Linked DNA regions of Homo sapiens: region 2 is linked to region 1. Evidence: promoter capture Hi-C in 16 types of primary human blood cells and fetal thymus (Javierre and others, 2016). All regions are on one chromosome and are shown on one strand. Each heading gives the region's core, a stretch centred on a gene start or on the middle of the fragment in contact. The rest is flanking DNA. Distances are from core to core; before and after follow the strand shown. Region 1 holds the start of OPTN (optineurin). Region 2 has its middle 74 kb from the start of CDC123.

What was found. The method cuts DNA at HindIII sites, captures the fragments that hold promoters and counts their contacts. A CHiCAGO score of 5 or more calls a contact.
Region 2: a contact is called between a fragment that was not itself captured here and the fragment with the promoter of OPTN in region 1, in 5 of 17 cell types (endothelial precursors, erythroblasts, naive CD4 T cells and 2 more). The highest score is 6.8, in endothelial precursors.

What each region holds. Positions count from the first base shown.
Region 1 is chr10:13,097,060-13,101,510 of GRCh38, reverse strand. It overlaps OPTN (optineurin), which reads right to left and starts at 1,348. Exons shown (of 15, transcript NM_001008212.2): 1 at 1,209-1,348. It also overlaps a transcript of CCDC3 not described here. RefSeq lists an enhancer at 563-692 and silencers at 973-1,542, 2,013-2,072. The HindIII fragment of the contact is 12,315 bases long and covers 1-4,451 here.
Region 2 is chr10:12,267,840-12,272,290 of GRCh38, reverse strand. No RefSeq gene overlaps it. Among named protein-coding and RNA genes, the nearest start is that of CDC123, 74 kb to the right of the region's middle. The HindIII fragment of the contact is 6,579 bases long and covers 1-4,451 here.

The DNA.
Region 1 (4,451 bases), core at 99-2,598:
GAATACTTATGCGCCTCTACCTAAGTAAGGGCGGGGGTTCGGCAGGACATAATACAGTGTCCAGTTGCCCTCGAGAATAAAGTTTGGTTTTCCGGGGGTGGGTGGGGGGGTGGGGGGGTGGAGGTTAGGTTAGTTATATTCCTAGCATAATATGCAACCTAAAGGTTAGTTTATAAAAAAAGAAGCTGTTACTTTTATTGTGTTGTACGTAATATATAAAGAACGCCTAAAATTGGCCCAGTGGAAAAACAGATGAATTATGCCAGGACTTAAATCAATGATCGTCCTCTGTCTACAGGTCACATTTAAACTTGCCTTGTCCACTCCAGGGCAATCCCTGGCCTTGGGGTCTGCCCTGGGACTTCTCCAGCCCCCGCCCCAAAACTGGGCCTGTCCTGGGAGGCAGCCTGGCACCACTAACTCTTCTCTCCCTGGGTCAAAAGAGCAAGGTGGGTTCTTCTGTTCACACAGCCTGCACCTTGCTAACCAGATCCAAAGGCTTCTGAGGTCCTCACATTGCCTTACTTTTCTATGCTTTCATTTTCCATTTCATCCTTACAAACAGTTCCTTGGTGTACATTTCCATACAACAGTTTTCCTGCTGGTGGAGGCCAGGTCGGAACCTGGGTTTCATTTTCTTTGAGCGATGTTTACTTCCTGTAGCTTATGCATTTCGATGGCAAAAACAATTCCTTTGGGGTTCTCGGCCTCATCAAATATTCTCTCTATATAGAGTGTACACACTCTCCTAGACACAGCAGTCTATGTGGATTCCCACCGACCCTGGGCACCTCATTCAGCTCGGGTAGTGGTCCCATGTCTCCCACAGGCGTGTCTGTAACCACCTCCTTATGGCGAGGAACTGGCTGCGGAATCCTTCCCAGCCTGCGGGAGGACGTCACCTCCAAGTCTCTGGGTGACTTGTAGAGGGGTTACCTGCGGCCAAGAGGCCGGCCCTGGACCCTTCTTGGGCCCACCCTGTGTTCACTACCCACCCTCTCCCACCAGGTCAGGACCCGCCGAGGCTTGGGGATCCTCCCAGGGCAGCCGTCTCGCGGGAGGGCCGCCCCACCCCTCGCCACCCTCACCCCGACAGGCTCCGGGCCGCGGGGCAGGGCGGCGGGTACCGTTTTCAGGCCGCGGAAGCGCCCGCCGGGAAGGAGCCGCCGCCCCCTCGCCCACCGCTGCAGCCCCCTGCCCTGGCTCACCTGCCGCCCGGCTTGGCTTCGCTCAGGGTCACTGTTTCCTCGGCATCGTGCCGCCTGGAGAGAACTCCCGACCGGGATGGGACGCTGACCAGGGAACCTGCCGGCGGGCGGCGGCGGTGGCGGAGGGGGCAGCCGGGACTGGGGTGCCTAGGGCTGATGCGCGGCCTGGCGACCCCGCCCAGCGCGGCTCAGCTGACAGCCAGCCGCTCCCTGCCCGCGCCGGGGAATTTCCCGGGCCCCGCCCATCCCATACCCCGCCCATCCCCCCCACCCTGCCCATTCCATACCCCACCCGACCAAGGCCCCGCCCCTCCTCTTTCCTGCGTCCGCCCCCAGCTACCCACCCTCGCTGTCCGTGCGGGGTCGAGGCTGGGACCCGGGTGAACAGGGACTGCTCTAAGGCGTCACTGTGACGGCGTTAATCAAAATAAATCATTAATCAAATGCAGTGTGCGGAGTTCGTCTTCCCCGTGTCTTCCCGCAGATCCCGTAGTGGAGGCTGGAGCCGCAGGGGGTCGCTGCCGCCCACAGAAAGAGGAGAATGCCAGGCATCCTCGGAGGGAGGCCTCCATCTGTGTTTTTTGAAAAAAGGTTAACATCTAGACATAGTTAACTGAGCATACATAGCTTTCCACTCGTTTTTGCTTTAAAATACACTCAAAAAGCAGAAAGCCTGCAGGATGCTTCTTGGGCTCTTGTTGCGGACGAATAGGCTCGGCTATTCTTGTTGCTGAAGAATAGCCTCTGCTGGTGTGGAGGAGGGAAGCTGCCCCCGGATTAGACAGCAGGATGACAAGGTAGGAGCGAGAGCCGCCCTATGTGCATCCAGAGTACCCGGGTAGCGCTGCAGGGATGGGAGGGAGGGAAGGAGGGAGGGGGAGAGAGAGAGAGAGGGAGGGACGGAGAGAGGGAGAGAGGGAGGGAGAGAGGGAGGGAGGGAGAGAGGGAGAGAAAAAAAACAAAACAACAACAACAAAACCTAATCTGAAACAGGAAAAAGGCAGATGCGCCCTCTCCTGGTATCTCCGAAGGATTCTGCTTCGCTGTCTGGACCTCCTGCTGCCTGGCCAAGCCTGACTCTCAACCCTGCCCCTGAGGCTAACCCCAAGAGCAGGGCAGAGAAGCAAGCAAGTCAGCGACTGCCCCAGACCCAATTCCGGGCCCTCGAGTTGGTGTGGTGTAGGAGGGGCAGATGAGGCTAGAGGCTGCTTTATAAGGAGTGAGCCTGGGGGTGGGAGTGGGGAGAAATAGAGAATTTAAAAAAATTCTTTTTATATCAGTGCAGGAGGGCCAGGCGCGGTGGCTCACGCCTGTAATCCCAGCACTTTGGGAGGCCAAGGCAGGCAGATCGCAAGGTCCGGAGTTCGAGACCAGCCTGGCCAATATGGTGAAAGCCTGTCTCTACTAAAAATACAAAAATTAGCCGGGCATGATGGTACTCTCCTGTAGTCCCAGCTACTCGGGAGGCTAAGGCAGAAGAATCGCTTGAACCCGGGAGGCAGAGCTTGCAGCGAGCCGAGATCATGCCACTGCACTCCAGCCTGGGTGACAGAGTGAGACTCCGTCTCAAAAAAAAAAAAAAAAAAAAAAAATCAGTGCAGGAAATAACTGATCATTCATGAAAAGGGCTTGGAAAAATATATACAGAGAGAAATGGAATGACGATCTCTAATTTTTGTTTATCTACTGGGATAATCCAGGCAGAAAAGACGGTGTCACAGCTGTACCCTGGGATCGGCAGAAAAGGGTCCCCCCGGGGCCTGTAAGGGGTGCCTGCGGTAAGTCGTACTTCACTAGGCTCCTTTTACTGTTTAAAACCCTATAGGTGGGGCACGGTGGCTCACACCTGTAATCCCAGCACTTTGGGAGGTCAAGGCAGGAGGATCGCTTGAGCCCAGGAGGGAGAGGCTGCAATGAGCTGTGATTGCAGCACTGCACTCCAGCTTGGGTGAGAGGGAGACTTTGTCTCAAGCAAAAACAAAAACGAGAACAAAACAACACTATGAAAGTGAATTAAAATGAGCATCAGTGAAACTCAGAGCCAAGAGAAGAAGGTCACCCACAAGCTGCCCATGGCTTTGGTGTGGGAGGCTCGAGGTGAGTTTCTGGTACAGAAAGCAGTCAAAGTTGTTTTCTCCTGATTCCTTGCTCTCAGTGGTGGGGTCGGGGTGGGGGGTGCCCTGAAGCACTGCACACACACATGCACACACACTCCCCCGACAACCACTTCTTAGCTGTAGGACCTTGACCAAGTTACTTCATCTTACCCTTCCTCATTCCCTTTATCTGTAAAATGGGGAGTATAGTACACTCCCAAATCCAGAAAGTTCTAAGGACCAAACCTCTTTTCTGACCAGACCCAACTGATGGAAAGCTATTTACAGTCTTTATTTAGATCCCTTGATGTGATTTTTAAATTTGTTTTGTGAAGGAAAATCGAATAGTTGATAGGAGAACTGCGTCAGACAGTGTCAGGGTGTTATGTGATATAAATCCCATTTATTGAATAGCCTTTTGAAAATCCCCAGAATTCTGGACTCTAAAGCAGAGCTTGCCCCAAAGGTTTTATTTTATTTTTTGAGGTGGAGTCTCACTCTGTTGCCCAGGCTGGAGTGCAGTGGCATAATCTCAGCTCACTGCAATCTCCACCTCCTGGGTTTGAGTGATTCTCCTGCCTCAGCCTCCCAAGTGGCTGGGATTACAGGCGTGTGCCACCACACCAAGCTAATTTTTGCATTTTTCGTATTGATGAGGTTTCGCCATGTTGACCAGCCTGGTATTGAACTCCTGACCTCGGGTGATCCACCTGCCTCGGCCTTCCAAAGTGCTGGGATTACATGTGTGAGCCACGGTGCCCAGCCACCCAAAAATTTTAGATAAGGCCTCTGGACCCACAGCCCTCACCTAAGGATGCTGAGAAGATTAAAGAGGAAATACGTCTTCAACACCTAGAAGAACGCCTGGCTCATGGTGTTTGTTGCTGTTGCTTGTGTTAGAGCCGGTTCTGTTTCTTAGCCTGGATCATCCCGTTTGGTGACTCCATCTTCCTGCACACTTCCATGGGTAGATGGAATCTAAATGCAGCGAAAAAACTGAAATAATAGCATGCTCTTAGCTGATTTGTTGATGTGGTTTTGTGGTGGGTAAATGTAGAGCAGTGTGGGAAGGTTTTTAGTGAGATCCTAATCTGGGTTTGATGTTCCTTGTGTTCCCTTTCCACCCCAATCTCCTCTGTTTGGAGTT
Region 2 (4,451 bases), core at 1,026-3,525, 830 kb after region 1:
CAGATTCCCATAGCAGTCCATTCTACTTTTACTCAGCTCTGACTGTTAGAAAGTGCTCCCTTGGAGGCTGAGGCAGGAGAATCACTTGAACCTGGGAGTCAAAGGTTGCAGTGAGCCAGAATCGCACCACCGCACTCCAGCCTGACGACAGAGAGACTCCATCTCAAAAAAAAAAAGAAAAGAAAAAAAGAAAGAAAGTGCTCCCTTGGGCCGGGCGCGGTGGCTCACGCCTGTAATCCCAGCACTTTGGGAGGCCGAGGTGGGCGGATCACGAGGTCAGGAGATCGAGACCATCCTGGCTAACACAGTGAAACCCTGTCTCTACTAAAAATACAAAAAAAATTAGCCGGGCGTGGTGGTAGGTGCCTGTAGTCCCAGCTGCTTGGGAGGCTGAGGCAGGAGAATGGCGTGAACTCGGGAGGCGGGGCTTGCAGTGAGCCGAGATCGCGCCACTGCACTCCAGCCTGGGTAACAGCGAGACTCCATCTCAAAAAAAAAAAAAGAAAAAGAAAAAAGAAAGTGCTCCCTTGGGTTAATTCCTTTTTTTTTTTTTTTTTTTTTGAGACCAAGTCTCGCTCTGTCGCCCAGGCTGGAGTGCAATGACGCGATCTCAGCTCACTGTAATCTCTGCCTCTTGGGTTCAAGCAATTCTCCTGCCTCAGCCTCCCGAAAAGCTGGGACTACAGGCACGTGGCACCACACCTGGCTAATTTTTTGTGTTTTTAGTAGAGACAAGGTTTCACTGTGTTGGCCAGGCTGGTCTCAAACTCCTGACTTCAGGTGATCCACCCGCCTCGACCTCCCAAAGTGCCGGGATTACAGGTGTGAGCCACCGCACCCGGCCTCCCTTGGGTTATTTCCTAATTCATAATCATTGCTTATGTGGAAGGAACTATAATCAGCTATATCTCCTCTTGCTAAGAAAAGGAATTATTCCTGTATCTTGTCCTGGCATCCACGTGTCCTCACGGTCTCTTATGATGTGACTCAACAGAAGTTGCGGGCATTTTTTTTCAGACCTAGAAGTTGACAGTTTACCAAACAGGTATTCTGTTTCCTGGCACCAAGTCAGAAATATGTTCCCAGGTTAGTTAAAAGGTGTCGAGGTGTTCGATTTCAGGCGTCTAGCTGATGCTCAGCCCATGCAATTAGGAGCCCGGCCAGAGCAAGTAAATCTTTTAGGCTCTTGGATGATGAGTCACGAATTCCATATAAGGCCCAACTTCCAGCCCCTGGCACTGAGGATGATCATAAGTGTTTGATCCTCTTGAGGCAGTTGCATTTTTACAGGGAGTTCTAACAAAAATAGATTACTCCACCCTGATTATGAGGAAATGCTTTGCTTAAGAAGCAGAAGTAGAGAGGGGGTGGAAAGGCTTGATGGCTGAAAGAAAACACTTGTTTGAAGTTTTCTTTTTCTTTTTCTTTTTTTTTTTGAGAAGGAGTTTCCCTCTTGTCACCCAGGTTGGAGTACAGTGGCGCTATTTTGGCTCACTGCAAACTCCGCTTCCTGGGTTCAAGTGATTCTCCTGCCTCAGCCTCCCGAGTAGCTGGAATTACAGGCACCCGCCAGCACACCCAGCTAATTTTTGTATTTTTGGTAGAGATGGGGTTTTACCATGTTGGCCAGGCTGGTCTTGAACTCCTGACCTCAGGTGATCCACCTGCCTCGGCCTCTCAAAGTGCTGGGATTACAGGCGTGAGCCCGGCCTAAAGTTTTCAAATGTAAAATAATTTTGCTAGAAGACAAACAATGGTTACGAAATTTTTATGGGAAACTTTTTTTTTTTGAGATAGGTTCTCGGTCTGTCATCCAGGCTGATGCGATCACATCTCACTGCAGCCTTGATAACCCAGGCTCAAAGGATCCTCCTGCCTCAGCCTCCCGAGTAGCTGGGACTACAAACACATGCCACCACATCTGGCTAATTTTTTTTTCTTATTTTTTTGTAAAGACAGGGTCTTGCTATGTTGCCAAGGCTGTTCTCAAACTCCTGGGCTCAAGCAATCCTCCTGCCTCAGCCTTCCAAAGTGCTGGAATTACACCTGTGAGACTCCATGCCCAGCTAGGAAACTATTTTGAATTTAGCATTCCCTACCCACTCAGATTATCGATCAAATGTGAAGCAATCAAAGAGACACTATTAAGATGTGCACAGGAGAACTTGGAAGATGTATTCCACAAGTACTCACCATGAAAAAGATGCTCAGGAACTACTTTGACAAAACAAAAGAGGAATTAAAGAAAGGGAAAGAAATTGGATAAAAAAAAAAAAAAAAAGAAGGACTGGCTGGGCACGGTGGCTCACTCCTGTAATCCCAGCGCTTTGGGAGGCCAAGGTGGGTGGATCACCTGAGGTCAGGAGTTTGAGACCAGCCTGGACAACATGGCGAAACCCTGTCTCTACTAAAAATACAAAAAATTAGCCGGGTGTGGTGGTGCATGCCTGTAGTCCCAGCTACTCAGAAGGCTGAGGCAGAAGAATTGCTTGAACCCAGGAGGCGGAGGTTGCAGTGAGCCAAGATCACACCAGTGTACTCCAGCTTGGGTGACAGAGCAAGACTCTGTCTCAAAAAACATATAAATAATTAATTAATTAAATTTTTAAAAGAAGGATTGTCAAGTCTCACCCAGAAGATGTGGCATGTAATGTTGGGGGTGGGCGGTGCAGGAGAGATAGGGGCCGGGGGAAGGAGGGCGGGGAAGGGGGCCGCAAGCTGGAGCTGTCAAGCGGCAAAATTCTAAAGCCAGAAGACTGAATTTCTGTTTTTATGGGTCCATACCTGTCCATTTGAGGAGTCCTTTCTTGAATAACTCAAAGCTCTTTGAAAATATTTATCTCCCTTGATCCTGGTCTCTGATCCGTCTTATCTTCCATAGCTACTGAGTCACCTAAGTATCCACAATGGTGTTTCTACTGGGAGTTGACACCTGCAATTTCCAGCCCCTGGCCTAGCAGTTTCCCAAGGGGTCTGTCTCTGATCATCTTATAGGGGATTTCCTACTGCAGGGAAGAGAGAAGTGCTGAGTTCAAAGTTTTTGAGACTGTGGTGACTGATTTTCTGAGCCAAAAGTCAGGACACAAGACGAGACTGACAAGTAAGAATGGACTTTCCTGAATCAAAGGGAGAGACTTTAAAACCAGACAGCCCTTGCAAATTCAGGGTGTATGGCTACCTTGATTGTCCTCAGGGACCTGAGGGACAGAGACAACAAAGTGGAAGCCCCCACCTGTGGGGCCCCCTCACCTGGGCAGGGTGAAGGCACACGGTGCTGTAACAGGCTCATAACTGGGCACTCCCTGAAACCCATAGTCTTTAGGGATTTCTTCGCTGATTCTGCAGATAAGAGCCTGAGACAGACGGGGCACAGGTCTGATAACTCAGCCTTTTTTGTCCCTAACAATTTAGCTCCAACTCCACACTATGTGCCCCACTTAGCGAACAAGTTCTTCAGATGGAAGGCAGTTGAGCAGCTTGGAGTTGTCACTCTGGTATGTCCTCACAAGTAGGGTGGGTGGGGAGTGGGGTGTCTTACCTCCATCTTAAGTCACTTATCAAAGTATTTCTTCCTACCACTTGGAACAGTCTATCTGATTTTTCATTTTATTATTTTTCTTTTTTTTTTTTTTTTTGTATAGACAGGGGCTCACTACATTGCCCAGGCTGGTCTTGAATTCCTGGCCTCAAACAAGCCTCCCACCTCGGCCTCCCAAAGTGTTGGGATTACAGGCATGAGCCACCATGTCCAGCCTAGTCTAACTGATTTAAAAACACACACGCACACACACATTTTAATTGACAGATAATAGCTGTACATATTTACAGGGTAGATAGTGATGTTGCAATATACATAATGTACAGTGATCAGGTCAGGGTAATTCCTATATCCACAATTGCTGGAAAAGGAGGAGAGACCCAAGAGACCAGTCTTTTGGACTTGAGTTTTTGAAAATATATATTTAATTTTAAAAACTTGCAAAACAGGCCAGGCACGGTGGCTCACGCCTGTAATCCCAGCACTTTGGGAGGCCGAGGCTGGCAGATCACCTGAGGTCAGGAGTTAGAGACCACCCTGGCCAACATGGTGAAATCCCATCTCTACTAAAAATACAAAATTAGCTAGGCATGGTGGTGCATGCCTGTAATCGCAGCTACTTGGGAGGCTCAGGCAGGGGAATTGCTTGAACCTCGGAGGCAGAGGTTGCAAGTGAACTGACATCATGCCACTCCACTCCAGCCTGAGCAACAGAGTGAGTGAGACACAATCTAAAAAAAAAAAAAAAAAAAAAAGGCCAGGTGCGGTGGCTTACCCCTGTAATCCTAGCACTTTGGGAGGCCGAGGTGGGCGGATCACAAGGTCAGGAGATTTAGACCATCCTGTGAATGGTGAAAACCCCGTCTCTACTGAAAATACAAAAAAAAAAAAAAAAAAAAAAAAAATTAGCCGG